Linked DNA regions of Homo sapiens: all the other regions are linked to region 3. The links are contacts of gene promoters, found by promoter capture Hi-C in blood cells and fetal thymus (Javierre and others, 2016). All regions are on one chromosome and are shown on one strand. The core of a region is centred on a gene start or on the middle of the fragment in contact, and the rest is flanking DNA. Distances in the headings are between cores, read along the strand shown.

Region 1 (2,700 bases), core at 87-2,586, 7.2 Mb before region 3:
TAAGAAATAAAAATGGAACTTATACAACCATGAGACAAACTACATTTCAAAACTTTCGTGATACAACTGAAGCAATACTCAGGGAAATTTATAGCCTTACAAGTTATTTTGGGCATTTAGGTTTTTAACTCAAGAAGCTAAAAAAAACAGAACAAAAATAGCAAAATAAACACAAATAGATGAATGGAAATAGATAAAAGTAGAAATTTTAAAAAAATTTAAAACCACAAACAAATTCAATAGAACTGACCAAACAAAACCAACTAGTTTTTTGAAAAGTCTACCTGAGGCCAGGCACGGTGGCTCACATCTGTAATCCCAGCACTTTGGTAGGCCGAGGTGGGTGGATCACCCGAGGTCAGGAGTTCAAGACCAGCCTGGCCAACATGGTGAAACCCCATCTCTACTAGAAATACAAAAATTAGCTGGGCATGGTGATGGGTGCCTGTAATCCCAGCTACTCGGGAGGCTGAGGCAGGAGAATTGCTTGAACCCAGGAGGCAGAGGTTGCAGCAAGCCAAGATCCTGCCATTGCACTCCAGCCTGGGCGACAAGGCTAACAGAGTGGAACTCTGTCTCAAAAAAAAGAAAAGTCTATCTGGTAAGTTGAAACTCCAGCACATCTATGCAAAACAAAAAGAAAAACATAACAACAATCAGATCTAATTTGTGCTATAAATGAAACTAAAGAGACTACTAAGAATATATCAATAATTTTGAAAACCTAGATAAAAAGCAATTTGTTGGAAAAATTTAATAAAAGGTAACATTTACTGAGTGTTTACAATGTGTCAGGTACTCATCTAAGTAATTCACTTATATTAAATCATTTAGTACTCATAACTACCTTACGAGATAGTTACTGTTATTTTTATTTAATATGGAGAAAACTGAAGCTTAGACAAGTTAAGTAACCTGCTCAAAGTCACATTAACTAATATAACTAATAAATAGCTGACCTAGGATTTCTTAGGTTATCCAGCTCCAGAGCCCATATCTTTAACTATATTACACTGCCTTTCAGAATAAAAAAGTTATCAAAATAGAAAATTGTACCTGAGCAATAACCATAAAAGAAATTGAGCTGATAGACAACATTCAGTCTCTTTTCCCCAGGAAAGGCCAATTTAGCTATACTCTGAAGAAACAGATAATTCTCATTTTGTAAAATCAGTCCTAGAGCACAGAACGAGATGAGAAGTTGCTTGATTCATTTAGAAGGCAAGCAATAAATGTTCACGGATTGGAAGATTCAATATTGATTGTAAAGATGTTAAGTTTCCCCAGATTAATTTATAGCTTCAAAGCAATTTCAATCAAAGTCTCAGTAGGGTTTTTTTATTTTTATTTTTTATTTTTTTACAAAAACTGACAGGCTGATTCTAAAATTTATATGGAAATATAATGGGCCAAGAATAGCCAAAGGCAATCCTGAAGAAAAATACAGCTGAAGGGTCTTATGCTATCAGATATTAAAACCTATTTTTTAAATTATAGTAATTAAAATAATGTGGTATTAACACACGAATAGACAAAATGATCAATGGCAAAGAAGACAGTGTCCAGAAAGAGATCTACACATAAAAGATTCCCTGATTTATGACAAAGGCAACACTACAGTTCAGTGGGGAAAAAATGATCTGTTCAGTAAATGGTGCCAGGTCAACTGGACATCCATACGGGGAAAAAAAAATGTTGATCTTCACTTGTTACCATACAAAAATCAGTACCAGATGGATGACAGATCTAAATGGGAAAATGTCAAATAAAGCTTTTAAAGAAAATATCTTTGTGACCTTAGAGTAGGCAAATATTTTTTTAACAGCACTAATCACAAAAGAATAAGGTTTAATTGGATTATAATAAGGAGCTTCTGTTCATTGAAAGACACGATTAAAAGAGTGCAGAGGCCACATATAGCCCAAGGTAAGATATATGAGGTATATACAGTTGTCTCTTTATTCATGGGGAATTGGTCACAGGACTAGGGCAAATACCCAGTCCATGGATGCTCAAGTCCCTTATATAAAATGGCATAGTATTTGCATATAACATACACACAGTCTCCCACATATTTTAAATCATCTCTAGATTATTTGTAATACCTAATACAATGTGAACACTATGTAAATAGTTGTTATCCTGTATAGTTTTTTTATTTGTATTATTTTTTGAATATTTTTGAGTATTTATTTATTTATTTAGAGATATGGTCTCACTCTGTCACCCAGGCTGGAATTGTAGCTCACTGCAGCCTCAAATTCCTGGGCTCAAGCAATCTTCTGCCTCAGGCTGTGGAGTAGCTGGCATTACAGACATGCATCACCACACCTGGTTAATTTTTTTCTTTTTTTTTTTTAATATGCAGGGTTTTGTTAATGTTGACCAGGCTGGTCTTAAACTCCTGGCTTCAAGCAATATTCCTACCTTAGCCTCCCAAAGTGCTGGGATTACAGGCATGAGCCACCTCACTGGGCCAGAGTATTTCCTTTATTTTTTTTTTTTGAGATGGAATCTTACTCTGTCACCCAGAGCAACCTCCGCCTCCTGGGTTCAAGCGATTCTCATGCCTCAGCCTCTGGAGTAGCTGGGACTACAGGTGCATGCCACCATGCCCAGCTAGTTTTTGTATTTTTTAGTAGAGACTGGGTTTCGCCATGTTGGCCAGGCTGGTCTCAAACTCCTAGCCTCAAGTGATCT
Region 2 (2,700 bases), core at 184-2,683, 7.8 Mb before region 3:
GGGCCTTTGTACTTGCTGTTCCCTCAAACTGGGATGCTTTTCCCCAGATACTCAACTGAGTTGTACACTAATTCTGGTATCTTCCAGAATTCGCCTCCTCAGAGAGGCTACTCTATATAATATTGCACATACTGTCTTCCCCCTTTTCTTCATGGATGGCATCTATCATGCCTATTATCACATTATATTACCACCTCCCACCACTAAACCATAAACTGTTGAGGGCAGGGACTTTGTTTTGTTCAATGCTATATTCACAGTGCCAGGCACATAATGGAATTCAATAAATATTTGCTGAGTGAACAAATTCAAACACTGGTATCAATATGGTTGACTACTCAAAGTGGTTGGTTACTCAGACATTTTGCAACTCTAGCAGGGTCACTAGCAAGCTATATTAATTCTAAAACAAATATTAAGTGGTAATTCTTTTATTATTGAGATGTTAATTTCCATAGCATAAAATTCACCCTTTTAAAGTGTACAATTCAGTGGTTTTCAGTATATTCAAAAACCTGTGCAACTATCACCACTACTTCCAGAATATTTTCATCACAATTCATATACTTCCCAGATTTTTCTATGGTCTTGGTAAATGACTCCTGTTTAAGGAATTTTCCACACTCAAACTATGCTTTGGGGGCCTTAATGTCATGTGCTCAGGTGGTAATTGCCTAAGTTAAGGAAAATCATAGCTCTCTGCCTACTTAAGTACTCCTTTTAGTACTCTGCTTACAAGTATGGAATCCTTGGATTCATGATTGGATTGACCACCTGTCTTGATAGCCTTTAAAAACCTGCCTGGAAACTACTACCATTAAAAAAACAACAAAAAATCCCAAACTAATTTTTTAAATGTGCAAAAGACATGAACAGGCATTTCTCCAAAGATAAACAAATGGCCAATAAACACATGAAAAGGTGCTCAACATCATTAGCCAAATGCAAATCAAAACCACAATAAGATACCACTTCACACCCATTAGAATAACTATTTTATAAACACCCATAGAAAATAACAAGTGTTGGTGAGGATGTGGAGAAACTGGAACCGTTGTGCATTGCTGGTGGGTATGTAAAACCACGTAGCTGCTGTGGAAAATAGTGTGACAGTTACTCAAAAGAAAAAAAAAAATTTCTCTGTCATCCAGGCTAGAGTGCAGTGATCACAGCTCACTGCAGCTTCAACCTCCCCAGGCTCAGGTAATCCTCCCAACTCAGCTTCCTGAGTAGCTGGGAATATAGCTGCCCACACCATCATGCCTAGCTAGTTTTTGTATTTTTTTTGTAGAGATGCAGTTTCACTATGTTGCCCAGGCTGGTCTCAAACTCCTGGGCTCAAGCAATCTGCTGCCTCAGCCTCCCAAAGTGCTGGGATTACAGGCATGAGCCACCACGCTTGGCCTCCTTAAAAAATTAAACATAGAATTACCAGTAATCCAGTAATTCCACTTCTGGGTATATACCCCAAAGAGCTGAAAGCAGTGACTGGAACAGACATTCGTATACCCATGTTCACAGCAGCATTATTTACTACAGTCCAAAGAGGGAAGCAACCCAGTGTCCACCAAGAGGCAAATGGATTAGAATGTGGTATATCCATATAATGGAATATTATTCAGTCATAAAAAGGAAATTCTGACACATGCTACAACATGGATGAACCTTGAATAATACACTACGTTAAGTCAAACAAGCCAGACACAAAAGGATAATACACAATTCCACTTACATGAGGTATTATGCACGGTCAAATTCATAGACATGTAGACTAGTGGTTACCAGGGGTTAGTTAGGTGGAGGAAGGAATGGAAAATTATTGTTTAATGTTTAATTGTAAAATTATTGTTTAATGGAAAATTATTGTTTAATGGGCAAAAAATTTCACTTTTGGATGGTAAACAAGTTCCAGAAATGGACAACGGTGATGGCTGCAGAACAATGTGAAGGTACTTAATGCCACTGAATTATACACTTAAAAATGGTTAGAGTGGCAAAATTGTAATGTATATTTTACCACAATAAAAAGATAATTAATTACAAAAAAACCCACCAAAACACATGGCTGAATCATTTACAGAAACTCGTTTGACAGACATACAGTCAGTTCAATTCCTTTGGCAGATCTGTCTTTCCCCTGAAGGAATGAATTTCCTCAATAGCTTTGGTGTTGTGCCTTTAGCATTCATTAAAAGACTCAATAATTTCACTTGAAAACTTTCTTTCAGGGCTAAATGATGAGAAATGTTTTGTTTTCTCCAGCAAAGTAGTGTGTTTCCCTTATGGTATTATTATGAATCAAGTGTCTGAGCTCTTCCTACTTTAACTACTAGGAATAAAATCTGTAGCTGAATTCTGGTTTAAGTCCATGTCTTGTACCTAGTATATCACAGTATCCCTCCTGGCTTTGACTTTATTTTTGAATTTTGCCGTATATTTGTCAATTTAATTGTATGTATTCTTATTAGTCAGACTAAACCTTTGAGAAATAAGGTGAAGCAAAATAAATGCAATGTTATGACCTTTACAGCTCTTTAGCTTACCTGCATGTTCATGTAGCCATCTACAGATACCAGATAGCCCTTGTACTCCATTCCCCACTTAAGTTTCACCATCACTGGCTTTCCTGTTAGTCCATTGAGGAAAGGTTTGGGATTGAGGGGTAAACTCTGCACAAAGAACAAAAAAGGATCTAATTAA
Region 3 (2,700 bases), core at 51-2,550:
CAATTACTGCTACAAACATTGAGTAATAACTGTGGTATTCTGACGAGGAAAGAACATGGTGATGATCAGTCTGAGTGGCAAGTAAGACCAGTTAGGTGGTGCAATGAGCAGGACATGAAATATTAACTGTAACAGCTGTGACAGCACTAGAAAGCAGGAAAAGATCAGATGCTATAAGGTAAAAAGCATCAAGGTGAATGGAAAACTGGCATGAAATGATTCCAGGGTTCATTCTTTAATTCAACAAATATTTATCCAGTGCCTACCACGTGCCAGGTCCTAGAAGCTGGGACTAAAGATAACAGGGCAATCTTTGCCTTAAACAAGTTTTAGTCCAGAAGACGAGAAAGCCAGTGCCAATGATGAAACTCAAGTGAGGTGGATTTCCAATGGACATGTTGGTTTTGTTTGAAATCAGCAAAGTTGGGAAGCACCCAACTAATCACTGGGGATTCTACTGATCAAAGACTACAACGTTTTATAGTACAATATGAAAAAATTACCCAAATATAGGTTACTCACTAGCATTTACCGAGGGCACACTATGGAAAACACGTTGCTGCAACAGAAAACCTTGAGAACACCAAAGTTAGAATAAATTAAGTAATTACTGGTAATATGAGGTGTGAACTTCAGTGACCTAATTAGGCTACTGTCAACACCGCCACTGGTTCGGACAGAACAGGTAAAGCAAGTCTTCTAATATCCACCCTTTCTTACTGCACTCTTGAAAAGTAGTAAAGCTTGGACTGTGGCAATTACCTGATTAGGGGGTTTCCCCAAAAGGTGCTGACCTGAAAAGGAAGGGACATGCTGTGGATGTGAGTTATCCATTTCCTTGCGAGGACAAGTTTGAATCTCCTGATAAGGAAAATTCTTTCGCAAATTCCCTCCCTCACAACTAAGAAAAGTACAAGAACCTGGAGCTCAGGGCGTACGGAACTCCCACCCCAGACCTCCCCAGGGAAACCTACAGAGGTTCCTGGCCTGCAGGGCAGTTCTAAAGCGCCCAGCCGCCCTCGCCGGGTTCGCACTGAGCCAGCGCCGCGGGGAGGAGCCCACGCGGGCCGCCAAGCCTGCCCGGCGCTCCTCCGTACCTGATGCTCCCTTTTGGAGGAAGGCTCCTCTTTCACCTCCGTCACAAACACACACGGCATTTTCCGCTGCACGGAGCCCAAGCGCTTCATGATGAGCCCAACAAGCAGTGCGAATGGAGGGCGTGCTTTCGAGCGGCGCCCGGTCCAGTCGCGGAGAAGCCCTGAAGCAGTCACCCGCACGGCTCAGGCCACGCACACTCCGCGCCCAGCCACCGCGGCTGCGCCCCAACTACCAAGCCCAGCGAGGGGCGGGAACGCCCGTCCAGAAGCGGCTTCCTGGCCGCGGCGCCTTCTGGGAGTTGTAGTGCAGAAGCTGAGGCGCCTGGTGGGTTCCCACGTGCGTCCTCCGCCCCCCACCCTCGGTTTTAATAACCGTGAAAAAAAAAAAAAAAAGATGCGTTTCCCGAACGTGGGTACTTAGCAATACCTAGTAACTAATGATTTTTTGGGAAATTAAATAAGATCAAATTATAAGCAATGAACATTTCAGATGTCGATTTAACACAGTTCCAATGGAAACTGCTTGCCTGTTATCTTTAGTTCGTGGGGGAAGCACTGTAGAAGTTTAGAAATGGCTAGAGACATCCCCAGATTCCCAAGCAGAATGAAAACTTCCTTTCCGGTAAGACTATCAGAAAACCCTATAATAAAACACCTGGGATCAAAAAAAGTTGTCGTTTGAACTACTCCTTATTGTGCAGCATAGCATGGTCGAAATGATTCTGATGTTCTTTTCGGAGTGAGTGCGAAATTTCAGCCTTAGACTAATCCAAAAGTACAGGAATACCTACAACCAGATTTCATTCTCAAGTTTTTCATAAGAATCTTGTTTAATTAAAGGTGAGCTCCAACAGCCCAAATGGCTTGAGTAATGGTAGTCAATCAACTGCGAGCTAAAAACAGCCTTAACTTACTGCTCAAAAGAATATTTTGAGGGTAAGTGATAAGATGGACAATGACTAAATAAAATAAATACTAAATATTTAGGAATAGTAGCCTTTCCATCTCATTGAATGTAGTAGTTCCTAGCCTGAAGTTGTAGGGGAATTTTGACTTTACTGCCATCCTTTATGGGCTTGGACTAGGCCCAGGTCTCATTTCTTTGTCTTATCTGCATGTACTCAACTGTCCAGCATGTTACTGACTTAGCCCTTGGAAAAATTAAACAACTATATCTCACTTAGAGGTATCTAACTAGTAAGGGGGTTCTCAAAGAATAAAACATCTTCCTTTAAAAAGTTCACAGTTATATTGAATACTGACAGTGAAAAAAAATAAAATTTAAAAAAAGTTCACAGTTTTTTGATTACTGGATTCAGAGGGGAGGGAGGAAGAAAGAGATTTGCCATTTCAAAGTGTTTACTTTCTTTTCTACTATCTTTTTCTCACAGGAAAACACAAAATGTTCTCCCACATCACACCCCGCCTGCATTTATCAAAAAAGAAAACACCTGATGCTGGCTGTGTGCTGTTGGAACCAGAAACTTTTTAGCATATTATAGTCGAGTGCCAGTGACTTCTTTGTTCTTTCAGAGGCATTCTAAAAAGCGGCGTGTTTCACGAATCTCAGAGACAACAACTTTCACAACTATCAACTGTCACC
Region 4 (2,809 bases), core at 218-2,717, 7.0 Mb before region 3:
AGCCTCCAAGTAATTGGGACGACAGGCACGCGCCACCAGGACTGGCTAATTTTTTTGTAGAGACGGGTTTTCGCCATGTTGGCCAGGCTGGCCTCAAACAACCGGGCTCAAGTGATCCGTCCGCCTCGGCCTCCCAACTTGCTGGGATTACAGGCGTGAGCTACCGTGCCCAGTCTCTAGTGATTATATTCTTGCCCTGTTTAGCCATTATGTCTCTTTACTCACAACAGTTTATAAGTGAAACTTTGCCTTACCATTTGCATGAGTCGGCCTCAGCTTGTCATTATATATAAAGCTTACTAATGTAAATGACGAGTTAATGGGTGCAGCACACCAACATGGCACATGTATACATATGTAACGAACCTGCACGTTGTGTACATGTACTCTAGAACTTAAAGTGTAATACAAAAAAAAAAAAGTTTAAATATGATTGGACTCTACCCCAGAGCCCAGTTTTCCAGAAATTAGAAACAGATATGCCTAAGACCCAGAGGGTTATTTATTACTCAAATCTAAAACGTTGACTCAAAACCTCCCCTAATGCCCACCTTTGGCAAACGATGCTTAAACCTTTGCACGTGGCTTCAAAAATTACCTGGCTGGGAACGCGTAGCTCTGGCGGGGCACTCTGCCTCCAAGCCAAAAGGGGGCAGTGGACTCACAGAGCCGCTGCTCGGCCCTCCGATCCCTCCACCCCACCCTGGGAACGTCACGACCTCCTCTCGCCGCTTCTCCCCGTTGCTAATGCGCAGGCGCTGGCGGGATAGCGCGCCGCCGAGCCGAGAAAGAGGTCACGAACTCTGACCCCCCAGAAATACCCAAACACAGAAAGCTCTCTCCGCCGTGAATCTCGATCCCACATCCCGTCGGCTTTCTTCAACCTCTCTTCCCGGAGCGCCCCCCAATCCACGAGTGGCAGCCGCGGGACTGTCGCGTCGGCGCCCGACGCCGGAGTCAGCAGGGCGCAAAAGCGCCGGTAAGAAACGCTGGGTGGGGACACCAGCGACCGCGTCGGGGGCGGGGGCCAGGGGGTGCCCTTCACCCCAACCGCCAACGGACGCGGTCCCAGCGCATCCCCCGGCCGGCGTCCTGCGGCCAGCGGAGCCGTTCAGTTTGGGAGCGCCGCTTGGGGCTGCTCGACTTCGGCTGGGAGCGCGGAGCTGCGGCGCCAAATGCGCGGGGCCCCGGGAGAGGCGGGGGCGACAGGGGCGGCGGGACGCGGGGCCGGACGGCGAGCGGCTTGGAGCACACAACCCCCTTTCCAGCTGCGCTTACCGCAGCGCCTCTGACCTTTAACCTGCAGGGAAAGCTTCCGCGGCGCTGCAGCTTTCCCCGCCCGGGAGAGCCGCGCGCAGCGCCGGGGCTTCCAGGGCGCACGGCTAACGCCGGCACGAGTGAGACGTGGGAGAGGCCGACCCTCGGCTAGTGGCCGCAAGTCCCGGCCTGCATCCCGTCACTAACTCCCGTGCTTTCACGGGACGGACAGAATGACTCCCCCCACTTTCACTTTTCTCTCACGGCAAATCTGGCCAGGGTCGTCGCTGCCTGTGGGCCTGGATCTTTTCAGAAGAAATGGAACGGCCCCAGGGTTCTCACTGCAGGGGGCATGTCCAAGCTTCCGATAGATAGCTCTTTTGTTAAGAAATAATTCTTCCAACTCGGGCAGATACCATTTTTGTGCAGTACGAATGTTGCCAGGTTGTCCCATAATCTTCAGTAAGTAGGTCAGCCTTTAAAAAAGTAACCGGAAAGCAAAAGCAGAAAGACCTAAAATTACGGCCTTTAGGGTTTAGTACCGCTAGAATTTGTAAATGGACCTTCGATTTTGAGCTTTTTTGAACCATTTCTGCTGTGTGGTTGGTGATACTCGATTTTTTTTTCTTTTTTTTTTTTTTTTTTTGAGAGGGAGAGGGAGTCTCACTGTCGCCAAGCTGGAGTGCGGTGGCGCGATCTCGGCTCACTGCAACCTCCGCCTCCAGGTTCAAGCGATTCTCCTGTCTCAGCCTCCCGAGTAGCTGGGATTACAGACACGAGCCACCACACCCAGCTAGTTTTTTTGTTTTTGTTTTTGTTTTTGTTTTTTGTATTTTTAGTAGAGGTGGGGTTTCACTATGTTGGCCAGGATGGTCTTGATACTCTGACCTCGTGATGTACCCGCCTCTGATCCACCCGCCTCGGCCTCCCAAAGTACTGGGATTACAGGCGTGAGCCACCGCGCCCGGCCGATGATTGTTTTTAAACTTTGCTTTAAGTCCAGTTAGTATATCTGAAAAAGCGATGTGTATTTCTATCATTAAAAGTGGGTCGCGGCTGGGCGCGGTGGCTCACACCTGTAATCCCAGCACTTTGGGAGGCTGAGGTGGGCGGATCATCTGAAGTCGGGAGTTCGAGACCAGCCTGACCAACATGGAGAAACCCCGTTTCTACTAAAAATACAAAATTAGTCGGGCGTGGTGGCGCACACCTGTAATCCCAGCAACTCCGGAGGCCGAGGCAGGAGAATTGCTTGAACCCGGGAGGCGGAGGTTGCAGTGAGCTGAGATCGCGCCATTGCACTCCAGCCTGGGCAAGAAGAGCGAAACTCCGTCTCAAAAAAAAAAAAAAAAGTGGGTTTTATGAAATGTTGCTAATCTTAGTTTTTCAAGGGGCATGTTAGTTTCTTCTAGGAAAGGTTTTTTTGTTTTGTTTTATAGAAATGGTGGGGGGCCTCATTTTGTTATCCAGACAGATCTCTGGCCTCAAGCTATCCTCCTGCCTCAGCCTGTTGAGTAGCTGGAATTACAGGCACCGCATCTTAAGGAAGGAT
Region 5 (2,700 bases), core at 99-2,598, 7.5 Mb before region 3:
AGGTGAGTTGTGATAATTCATTCAATTTCTAATAAAAGTTTATTAATAAAACAATGAAGGAAAGATACAAACTATACCAAATCTGTAAGAATACTGAATCTGATCTATTTGCAAATAGTCAAAACTGGTTATATGAATGTAAAAAGTATTGAGATTTATTAAAAAGCAAACACACCACACTATCTTATACTTATTCTGTATTTCTCCAGGATAACATACAATAATGCAATATTTAAGAAAATTACTTTGAGAAGTATTATAACATGTAATTAATATCTTCCTCTATTATTTCAAAAACAGAAGTTATTCTACTTATTTAATTTCAATAGAAGCTTAGAGTAAGGAAAAGGAAGTTTTTGAAGTTTACAAAATCTCATTTTTTTCATGTATTAAATACCACTTCAAGTGTTCCATAACATTCACATTGTTAAAAGTATTAACAATCTGTTAACAAGTATAAGAAATCAATGGCTTTCCTCCACTCTAGCAGCAAGTATAAAGAAACAGAAACGGGATTGAAATATTTAATTCACATCACTAACAAAAACCATAAAACACTAACAAATTTAATTAAAAAGGGCTAGAACCTACCTGGAAAAAATAAAATTGAATAAGTGAAAAAATATCAAAAACATCCCATGACATTGGATAAGACAAGGTGATAAACTGTCAATTTTCAGAAACTAATACATAAATATAAATGCAATTCTGATGAGAATTCTAACAAGGACATTTGTGTGTGTGTGTGTGTGTAAGGCTATATGACTGAGAGTAGCTAAGAAAAGTATTAAAAAGAACTGTTTGGGATATCAAATCAAAATAGTATTAGCCTAAGAAGAAACAGATCAGTGGAGCAGAGTAAATAATCCAGAAACTGATTCCATTATATACATGGGAATACAGCATGTGACAAAGGTGGTCATTCAATTCAGTAGGAGGGATTATTTAATAGACAATAAACTGACTCTGCACTGGAAAGAAAAATAAAATAATTAGTGCTCCCAACCTTACACAAAAAATTCCAGATTAAAGATGTAATAACACACAAAATACGTGTTCAAGAAAATCTGAGAGACTACTGGGAACTCAGAAGTATTTTTTTTTTTTTTTTTTTTTTTTTTTTGGTGAGACAAAGTCTCGCTCTGTCACCCAGGGTGTAGTGCAGTGGTGCAATCTCAGCTCACTGCAACCTCCATCTCCTGTGTTCAAGCGATTCTCCTGCCTCAGCCCCCCGAGTAGCTGGGATTACAGGCACGCACCACTGCACCCGGCTAATTTTTTTTATTTTTTTATTTTTAGTAGAGACGGGGTTTTACCATGTTGGCCAGGCTGGTCTTGAACTCCTGACCTTAGGTAATCCACCTGCCTCAGCCTCCCAAAGTGCTAGGATTACAGGCATGAGCCACCATGCCTGGCCGGAACTCAGAAGTATTAAACATGGACACATAATGCATTTAAAAATTTAAAACTTCTGGGAAGAGCAAAAGATATCATAAAGCCTACGATCAAAAGATGCTCGAAATCACTAATAGTATAAGAACTGGAAATTATTAATATATTCTTTGGTTAATCAATCTCACTCCTAAAAACGTATTTCAGAATATAACTACCAGTACATGAGAAAGAGAGAAAAATACCTACATATCCAGCTACCTATTTACCTAAGGAGGTTTATTGCAGAATGGTTTATAGTGGCAAAAATTATTGCAGACAAAGCAAATGGCCATCAGCTAAAGAATGGTGGAATAAAGTGTGGTACACTCACACCACGGAATATTATGAAGCCATTCAAGATAATAATAGAACTATTCTAATTGACTTGGAGGAACTTCCAAGAGTTAGCACTGAATGAGAAAAGGTGGAGGAAAGTGTGCCTATGATTCCATTTTTGTAAAACAAACAATGATCAAACATTCCCTTACATAAACAGACAGATGTATACATATATGAGCATAGAAAAAATATGGAAGGCTACCTGCTAGGTGGTTAACATGGGTCTGGAAGGAAGGAAAAGAAGAGGGAACAAGCAAAAAAAAAAAAAAATTAAGAGATTATATTTAAAAATAAATGTGATCACATCATATGTACTATAAGAATTTATTAATGTAAAATTATCTGTATCTGTGGCATTTTAAAAATAAGTGCTTTTAAGATAGGGACAATTGACGATTTCAAATTCAAAGAAAAGAAGCCCATGTCATACAATTCCAGAACTTTACACTTATTCCCTAAGAACATTCGTAACTGGAAATGAGGGAGCAGGTGGTAATGTAACAACAGTATGTTCTTTCTTTTTTTCTATGTTTTAAAAAAAAAAATGGTGTCTTTACAGGCCAAGAAAACAAGAGCTACAGTAGAAGCTTTCTTAACCAACGACTGCAACCACTGGATTAAGCAATACTCTTAAGTCCCTTTGTAAAACACACTGATCAATGTCCATGGTATTATAAATATTGTGGGTGACAGGTTATTACTTTGAATAACAGGAACTAGCTTGCTTTATGTTCACTATGCATCTACTCTTCTAAGTGCTATGCATATATCATTCCTCACAATGACCCTGCAGAGTGCCCATTTTATGGATGAGGAAATAAAAGCACAGATGTGATAATTACTTGCCCAAGTCACAAAGCTAATAAATGTCAGAACTGGGATTCAAATGCAGATAGTTTGGCCCCAGCTTCCATGCTCTCAATATGT
Region 6 (2,817 bases), core at 158-2,657, 6.4 Mb before region 3:
CCTGTTGATATACATTTAGGTTATTAGTTTTTGGTTATTATGAATAAGGTTGCTCTAAACATTCTTTGTGTAAGTTTTCTTGTGAAGTTGCATTTTCGTGTCTCTTGGGTAACTAAGTGAAATTGATGAGCCATGAATAAGGTAGATGAAAGTACAATGAAAAGAAATTGCCAAGTACTTTTCCAAAGTATTTTACACTCACATCAGCAATGTGTAAGTTCCAGCTGTTTCACATCTTTGTTAATGTTTGGGCTACTACACTTTATTTCAGCACCTTGGAATGTCTGTGAAATGAAGTCCTCTGTAGATTTAATTTTCATTCCCTTGATGATCAAAGATATTAAGTACTTCCTCCATTTTTTTGTTGTGTTAAAATACACATAACATAAAAACCATTTTGTAGTGTACAGTTCCATCGTATTAAACACTGTACATTCATAAATGTGCAACCATCACCAGCATCTATCTCCAGAATTCTCTTTATCTTGTAAAACTGAAACTATACCCATTAAGCAGTAACTCCCCAGATCCCCCACCCCACCAGCCCCTGGCAAACACCATTCTACTGTCTCTGTACTTTTGACTCCTTTAAGTATCTCAGATAAGTGGAATAATATGGACCAGTACCATTCCATGGCCTGTTAGGAACTGGGCTGCAAAGCAGGGAGCAACAGGTGAGCAAGCAAAGCTTCATTTGTATTTACAGCCATTCCCCATCGCTCACATTACCGCCTGAGCGCTGCGTCCTGTCAGATCAGCGGCGGCATTAGATTCTCATAGGAGTGCGAACCCTGTTGTGAACTGTGCATGTGAGGGATCGAGGTTGTATGCTCCTTATGAGAATCATGATCTGTCACTGTCTTCCATCACCCCCAGATGGGACCATCTAGTTACAGGAAAACAAGCTCAGGGCTCCCACTGATTCTACATTATGGTGAGTTGTATAATTATTTCATATTACAGTGTCATAATAGAAATAAAATACACAAATGTAATGTGCCCGAATCATCCTGAAACCACCCCCCCACCCATCAATCTGTGGAAAAATTGTCTTCCACGAAACTGGTGCCAAAAAGGTTGGGGACCACTGTTCTATTGTATGTATATACTATATTGCTCATTCATTTATCTGTGGATGGAGACTTGTGATGTTTCCACATTTTAGCTATTGTGAATAATGCTGGTTGTGAACATGGGTGTGCAAATCTCTTTTTTTTCTAGCTCCATTTCTGAGTATGGAGAGACGTATTTTCAATTATTTTAGGTATATACCCATAAATGGAATTGCTAGATTATATAACTCTATTTTTAATTTTTTGAGGAGCCTCCATACTGTTTTCTGTAATGGCTCTACTATTTTAATTCCCATCAACAGTGCACAAGGATTCCAATTTTTCCACATCCTTGCTAATATTTTTTTTAAATAGTAGCCACCCTAATGAGTGTGAGGTGGTGTCTCATTATACTTTTGATTTGCATCCTAATGATTAGTTAAATTGGGCATTTTTTCATATGCTTATTGGCCATTTGTATATTTTCTTTGGAGAAATGTCTATTCGTGTCCCTTGCCATCTATTTACTTATTTAGAGATGGAGTCTTGCTCTGTCACCTAGGGTGGAGTGCAGTGGTGTGATCTTGGCTCACTGCAGCCTCTGCCTCCCAGGCTCAAGTGATCCTCCCATCTCAGCCTCCTGAGTAGCTGGGATTATAGGCAAGCACCACCATGCCTGGCTAATTTTTTGTATTTTTGGTAGAGATGGGGTTTTACCATATTGTCCAGGCTGGTCTTGAACTCTTGAGTTCAACTGATCTGCCCCCCTTGGTCTCCTAAAGTGCTGGGATTACAGGCATCAGCCACCATGCCCGGCCTCCTTTGCCCATTTTAAAATTGTATTCTTTGTTAGGAGTTCTCTATATATTCTGAATATCAATCACTTATCAGATATGACTTGAAAATATTTTCTCCTGTTCTGTGGCTTGCCTTTTTACTCTGTTGATAGTGTCATCTGATATACAAAATTTTAAAATTTTCATAAAGTGAAATTTGTCTATTTTTTCTTTTGTTGCCTAGGCCTTTGGTTTAATATCCAAGAAATCAATGTCAAATCCAATGCTATGAAGCTTTTGTTCTGTGTTTTCTTCTAAGAGTTTTATAGTTTTAAGTCTTATGTTTATGTCTTTTATCCATTTTGAGTTAATTTTTGTATATGGTGTTGGGTAAGGGTTCAACTTCATTCTGGGTCTGGTTTTCCCAGCACTATTTGTTGAAAAGACTGTCCTTTCCCCATTGAATGGTCTTGGCACCCTTATCAAAAACTATTTGATCATAAATGAGGGAGTTTATTTTTAGGCTCTCCATTCTATTTCATTGGTCTATGTCTGTCTTTACACCAATACTACACTGTTTTAATTACTATAGCTTTGTAGTAAGTTTTGAAATCAGTAAGTGTGAGTACTTGAGCCTTGTTCTTTTTTCAAGATTGTTTTGACTATTTCAGTTCCCTTGAGATTCCATATGAATTTTAGGATGATTTTTCCATTTCTGCAAAAATTGTCATTGGGATTTTAATAAGGATTGCATAATGTGTTGATTGTTTCATACAGTATTGACATTTTAATACTGCTCCAATCCATGAACATAGATGTGTTTCCATTTATTTATATCTTCTTTAATTTATTTTGCAATGTTTTGTAGCTTGCATGTGTAAGTCTTTCACCTCCTTGGTTAATTCCTAAGCATTTTATTCTTTTTGATGTTATCATACATCAAAATGATACTTTTGGAATTTTCTTTTCAGATTGTTGTTAGTGTATAA
Region 7 (2,700 bases), core at 13-2,512, 6.4 Mb before region 3:
AGGTATAGATGAGGTTCCTAGTGAGAGTTGTGTAGAATCAGAAGAGAGCTTGTGAACACCAGCATGTAATAGGAAGGGGGAGAAAGAAGGTAGGAAAACCAGAGTAGGGTAACGTTTTGGAAACCAAAGAAAGAATGCACATCACATTTAGTTTATTGATTAAATGGAAATTGTTGCTCAAGAAACATTGAGTGTGTAGTCCTATAAATGTAAACCTATCTAAATAAAGATGCCCTCTACAAAGATCTGAACTTGCAAATGGGGGTAGTTTAAGTCCTTGTTTAGCAGCGTAACAGAGGAAAGAGTATGTACTTTGGAGCCTGGATCCTGAGAGTGAAGGTTAGATTACTAGCTGCGTAACTTTTTGAACCAGTTACTTAATTTTTTGGTCCTTAATGTATGGATTAAAATAAGGTAAGCTGTAAACTTGACTTTTAGTGGGCATTGTTGATTTTTATCCTTGCCATTATTAATGACTCTTCTGAACTACATACCCTTCTTTTCCTTCCCCATCCCCCGTCATATTCTTTCATCCTTCAAGATCCACCAAAATTCCTGCCTTTTCTTTGATATCTTCCTCTATGGATGATATTACAAATTTTCTGTAATGGAATGAACATGTCCTGTGTCCCTTAGAATTAGCAACGTTATTCTTTTTTCTTTTTCTTTTTTAAAGCCTTAAGAAGGAAATTGTATTATCTCACATGTAAGAAGTCTGGAGATAGGTGGTTCTAAGATTGTCAATTAAGTGGCTTAGTGATAATCTTTAAGAACCTGGATTCTTTTTGCTTGGTCATCCTTTGAACTCAGCCTTGATTACTACAACTATCAACAAATTTTCCAAAGTTTGGAAGAGATAACTTCTTTCTTCTACCTAGCCCTTTTTAAACAGCTTTATTGAGATATATTTTACCTACCATAAAAACCACTCATTGTAAGTGTACAATTTAATGGTTTTTAGCAACTTTATAGAGTTGTGCGACTGTCATCACAAGGCAATTTCTGACATTTTATCAGTCTCCTAGATTCTCTCAAGCTTATTTGCATTTAAGGTAACTCCTTCCCACAGCCCCAGAGAACCACTGATCTACTTTCTATCACTATAAATTTGTCTTTTCTACATATTTCATATAAATGGAATCAATACAGTAGTCTTTTGCATCTGGCTTCTTTAACTTCATGCTTTTGAGGTTTATTTAATGTATGTATATCAATGTTTTGTTCTTTTTAATTGTTGCATAGTATTCGTGTGTATTTTCCATTCACCAGTTGAATAGTATTGGTGAATAGTATTTCCCATTTACTGGTAACCAGTGAATAGTATTTCCCATTCACTAGGTGATAGACATTGGATGGTTTCCAGTTTTTGGCTGTTATGAATAATGCTGCTATGAAGATTTGTCTGTAATTCCTTGTGTGAGCATATGTATTCATTTGTTTTGGGTAAATTCCTAGGAGTGGAATTGTTGAATTATATGGTAAGCTTATTTTTAACTTTTAAAGAAACTGTCAAAATGTTTTCCAAAGTAGCTGTACCAATTACATCCTACCAGCAATGTATGATGATTCCAGTTTCTCCACATCCTCACCAACAGTTGGTATTATCTTTTTAATTATAGCCATTCTAGTTAGTATCTAGTAGTATCCCATTGTAATTTTAATTTGCATTTCCCTGCACAGTAATGTTGGACACCTTTTTCTGTGGTTATTGGCCATTTGGTGGAATATCTGTTTAAGGCATTTGCCCATTTTTTAGCTGGGTTTTTTTTTTTTTTTTTTTGGTCTTACTGAGTTGTAAGAGTTCTTTATATATGCTGGATGAAAGTTTGTATTGTTTTTAATATCAGAGATAAGATTTGCAAATATTTCTCCCAGTTGGTGTCTTGGCTTTTCATATTTTTACTGTTGTCTTTTGAAGTGCAAAAGTTTTTAATGAAGTCATTTCTTTTGTGTGTGTGGCACGTACTTTCATGTTATGTATACGAACTTTTTGCCTAATCCAAGGTCCCAAAGATTTTTCTTTGAGCTCCCAAAGGTCTTCTTTGAGCTCTTTCCTTTAAATATAAGATTCATATTGAATTAACCGTGCATTTGATGTAAGAAGAGGATCTAAGTTCATTTTTTAAAAATGTGAATGCCAAATTATCCAGTACCATTTGTTAAAAAGACTGTTCTTTTCCCTTCAATTGTATTGGCATCTTTGTAAAATATCAGTTGACTATAATGTAAGAATTTATTCCAAGACTCATGTCTATAAACCTATCCTTACTCCAACACTATTCTGTCTTGATTACTGCAGTTTTATAGTAAGTTTCAAAATAAGTAGTGTAACATTTTCTTCTTTTTCAAAATTGGTTCTATGCTCTTTCCATTTCCATATACAATTTAGGATCAGCTTGTTAATTTCTACAAAAACACATCTGATGTTTGTAGGATTTGCATTGAATCTATCCATCAATATGGGAAGAATCACTAACTTAACCATCTTGAGTCTTCCAATCCATGAACATGTAATATCTCTCCATTTACTTAGATCTTTCATTTCTCTTAATAATGTTTTTTACTTTTCAGTGTACAAATCGTGCACTTATTTGGTTAAATTTATTCCTAAGACTGTTATAATTTTGATGCTCTTGGAAATGGAGTTTTCATGATTTGATTTCAAATTGTTCATTGTTAGCACAAAAAAATGCAATCGTC

What was found. The method cuts DNA at HindIII sites, captures the fragments that hold promoters and counts their contacts. A CHiCAGO score of 5 or more calls a contact.
Region 1: a contact is called between a fragment that was not itself captured here and the fragment with the promoter of RLIG1 in region 3, in 4 of 17 cell types (non-activated CD4 T cells, activated CD4 T cells, naive CD8 T cells and 1 more). The highest score is 12.3, in non-activated CD4 T cells.
Region 2: a fragment that was not itself captured here is called in contact with the fragment with the promoter of RLIG1 in region 3 in 6 of 17 cell types (fetal thymus, non-activated CD4 T cells, activated CD4 T cells and 3 more); the score reaches 15.1 in fetal thymus.
Region 4: a fragment that was not itself captured here is called in contact with the fragment with the promoter of RLIG1 in region 3 in 3 of 17 cell types (activated CD4 T cells, non-activated CD4 T cells and fetal thymus); the score reaches 10.2 in activated CD4 T cells.
Region 5: a fragment that was not itself captured here is called in contact with the fragment with the promoter of RLIG1 in region 3 in 1 of 17 cell types (non-activated CD4 T cells); the score reaches 5.8 in non-activated CD4 T cells.
Region 6: a fragment that was not itself captured here is called in contact with the fragment with the promoter of RLIG1 in region 3 in 1 of 17 cell types (non-activated CD4 T cells); the score reaches 5.5 in non-activated CD4 T cells.
Region 7: a fragment that was not itself captured here is called in contact with the fragment with the promoter of RLIG1 in region 3 in 2 of 17 cell types (activated CD4 T cells and non-activated CD4 T cells); the score reaches 5.4 in activated CD4 T cells.

Annotation. Positions count from the first base shown.
Region 1 is chr12:95,221,339-95,224,038 of GRCh38, reverse strand. The region is part of intron 1 of VEZT (vezatin, adherens junctions transmembrane protein); the gene reads right to left. Among named protein-coding and RNA genes, the nearest start is that of VEZT, 4.9 kb to the right of the region's middle. The HindIII fragment of the contact is 875 bases long and covers 899-1,773 here.
Region 2 is chr12:95,861,137-95,863,836 of GRCh38, reverse strand. SNRPF (small nuclear ribonucleoprotein polypeptide F) reads right to left here. Exons shown (of 4, transcript NM_003095.5): 2 at 2,544-2,669. Among named protein-coding and RNA genes, the nearest start is that of SNRPF, 3.5 kb to the right of the region's middle. The HindIII fragment of the contact is 5,419 bases long and covers 1-2,700 here.
Region 3 is chr12:88,034,136-88,036,835 of GRCh38, reverse strand. It overlaps RLIG1 (RNA 5'-phosphate and 3'-OH ligase 1), which reads right to left and starts at 1,300. Exons shown (of 7, transcript NM_001009894.3): 1 at 1,098-1,300. The coding sequence starts at 1,187. It overlaps LOC107984542 (a long non-coding RNA gene), which reads left to right and starts at 1,340. Exons shown (of 3, transcript XR_007063395.1): 1 at 1,340-1,422; 2 at 2,489-2,700. The HindIII fragment of the contact is 2,128 bases long and covers 746-2,700 here.
Region 4 is chr12:95,071,550-95,074,358 of GRCh38, reverse strand. It overlaps NR2C1 (nuclear receptor subfamily 2 group C member 1), which reads left to right and starts at 741. Exons shown (of 14, transcript NM_003297.4): 1 at 741-979. RefSeq lists enhancers at 644-963, 654-1,154 and a silencer at 1,044-1,323. The HindIII fragment of the contact is 306 bases long and covers 1,315-1,620 here.
Region 5 is chr12:95,486,935-95,489,634 of GRCh38, reverse strand. The region is part of intron 4 of METAP2 (methionyl aminopeptidase 2); the gene reads right to left. Among named protein-coding and RNA genes, the nearest start is that of METAP2, 14 kb to the right of the region's middle. The HindIII fragment of the contact is 2,028 bases long and covers 335-2,362 here.
Region 6 is chr12:94,467,625-94,470,441 of GRCh38, reverse strand. No RefSeq gene overlaps it. Among named protein-coding and RNA genes, the nearest start is that of CEP83-DT, 9.0 kb to the right of the region's middle. The HindIII fragment of the contact is 1,434 bases long and covers 691-2,124 here.
Region 7 is chr12:94,450,548-94,453,247 of GRCh38, reverse strand. All of the region lies in intron 1 of CEP83 (centrosomal protein 83), which reads left to right. Among named protein-coding and RNA genes, the nearest start is that of CEP83, 8.0 kb to the left of the region's middle. The HindIII fragment of the contact is 447 bases long and covers 1,039-1,485 here.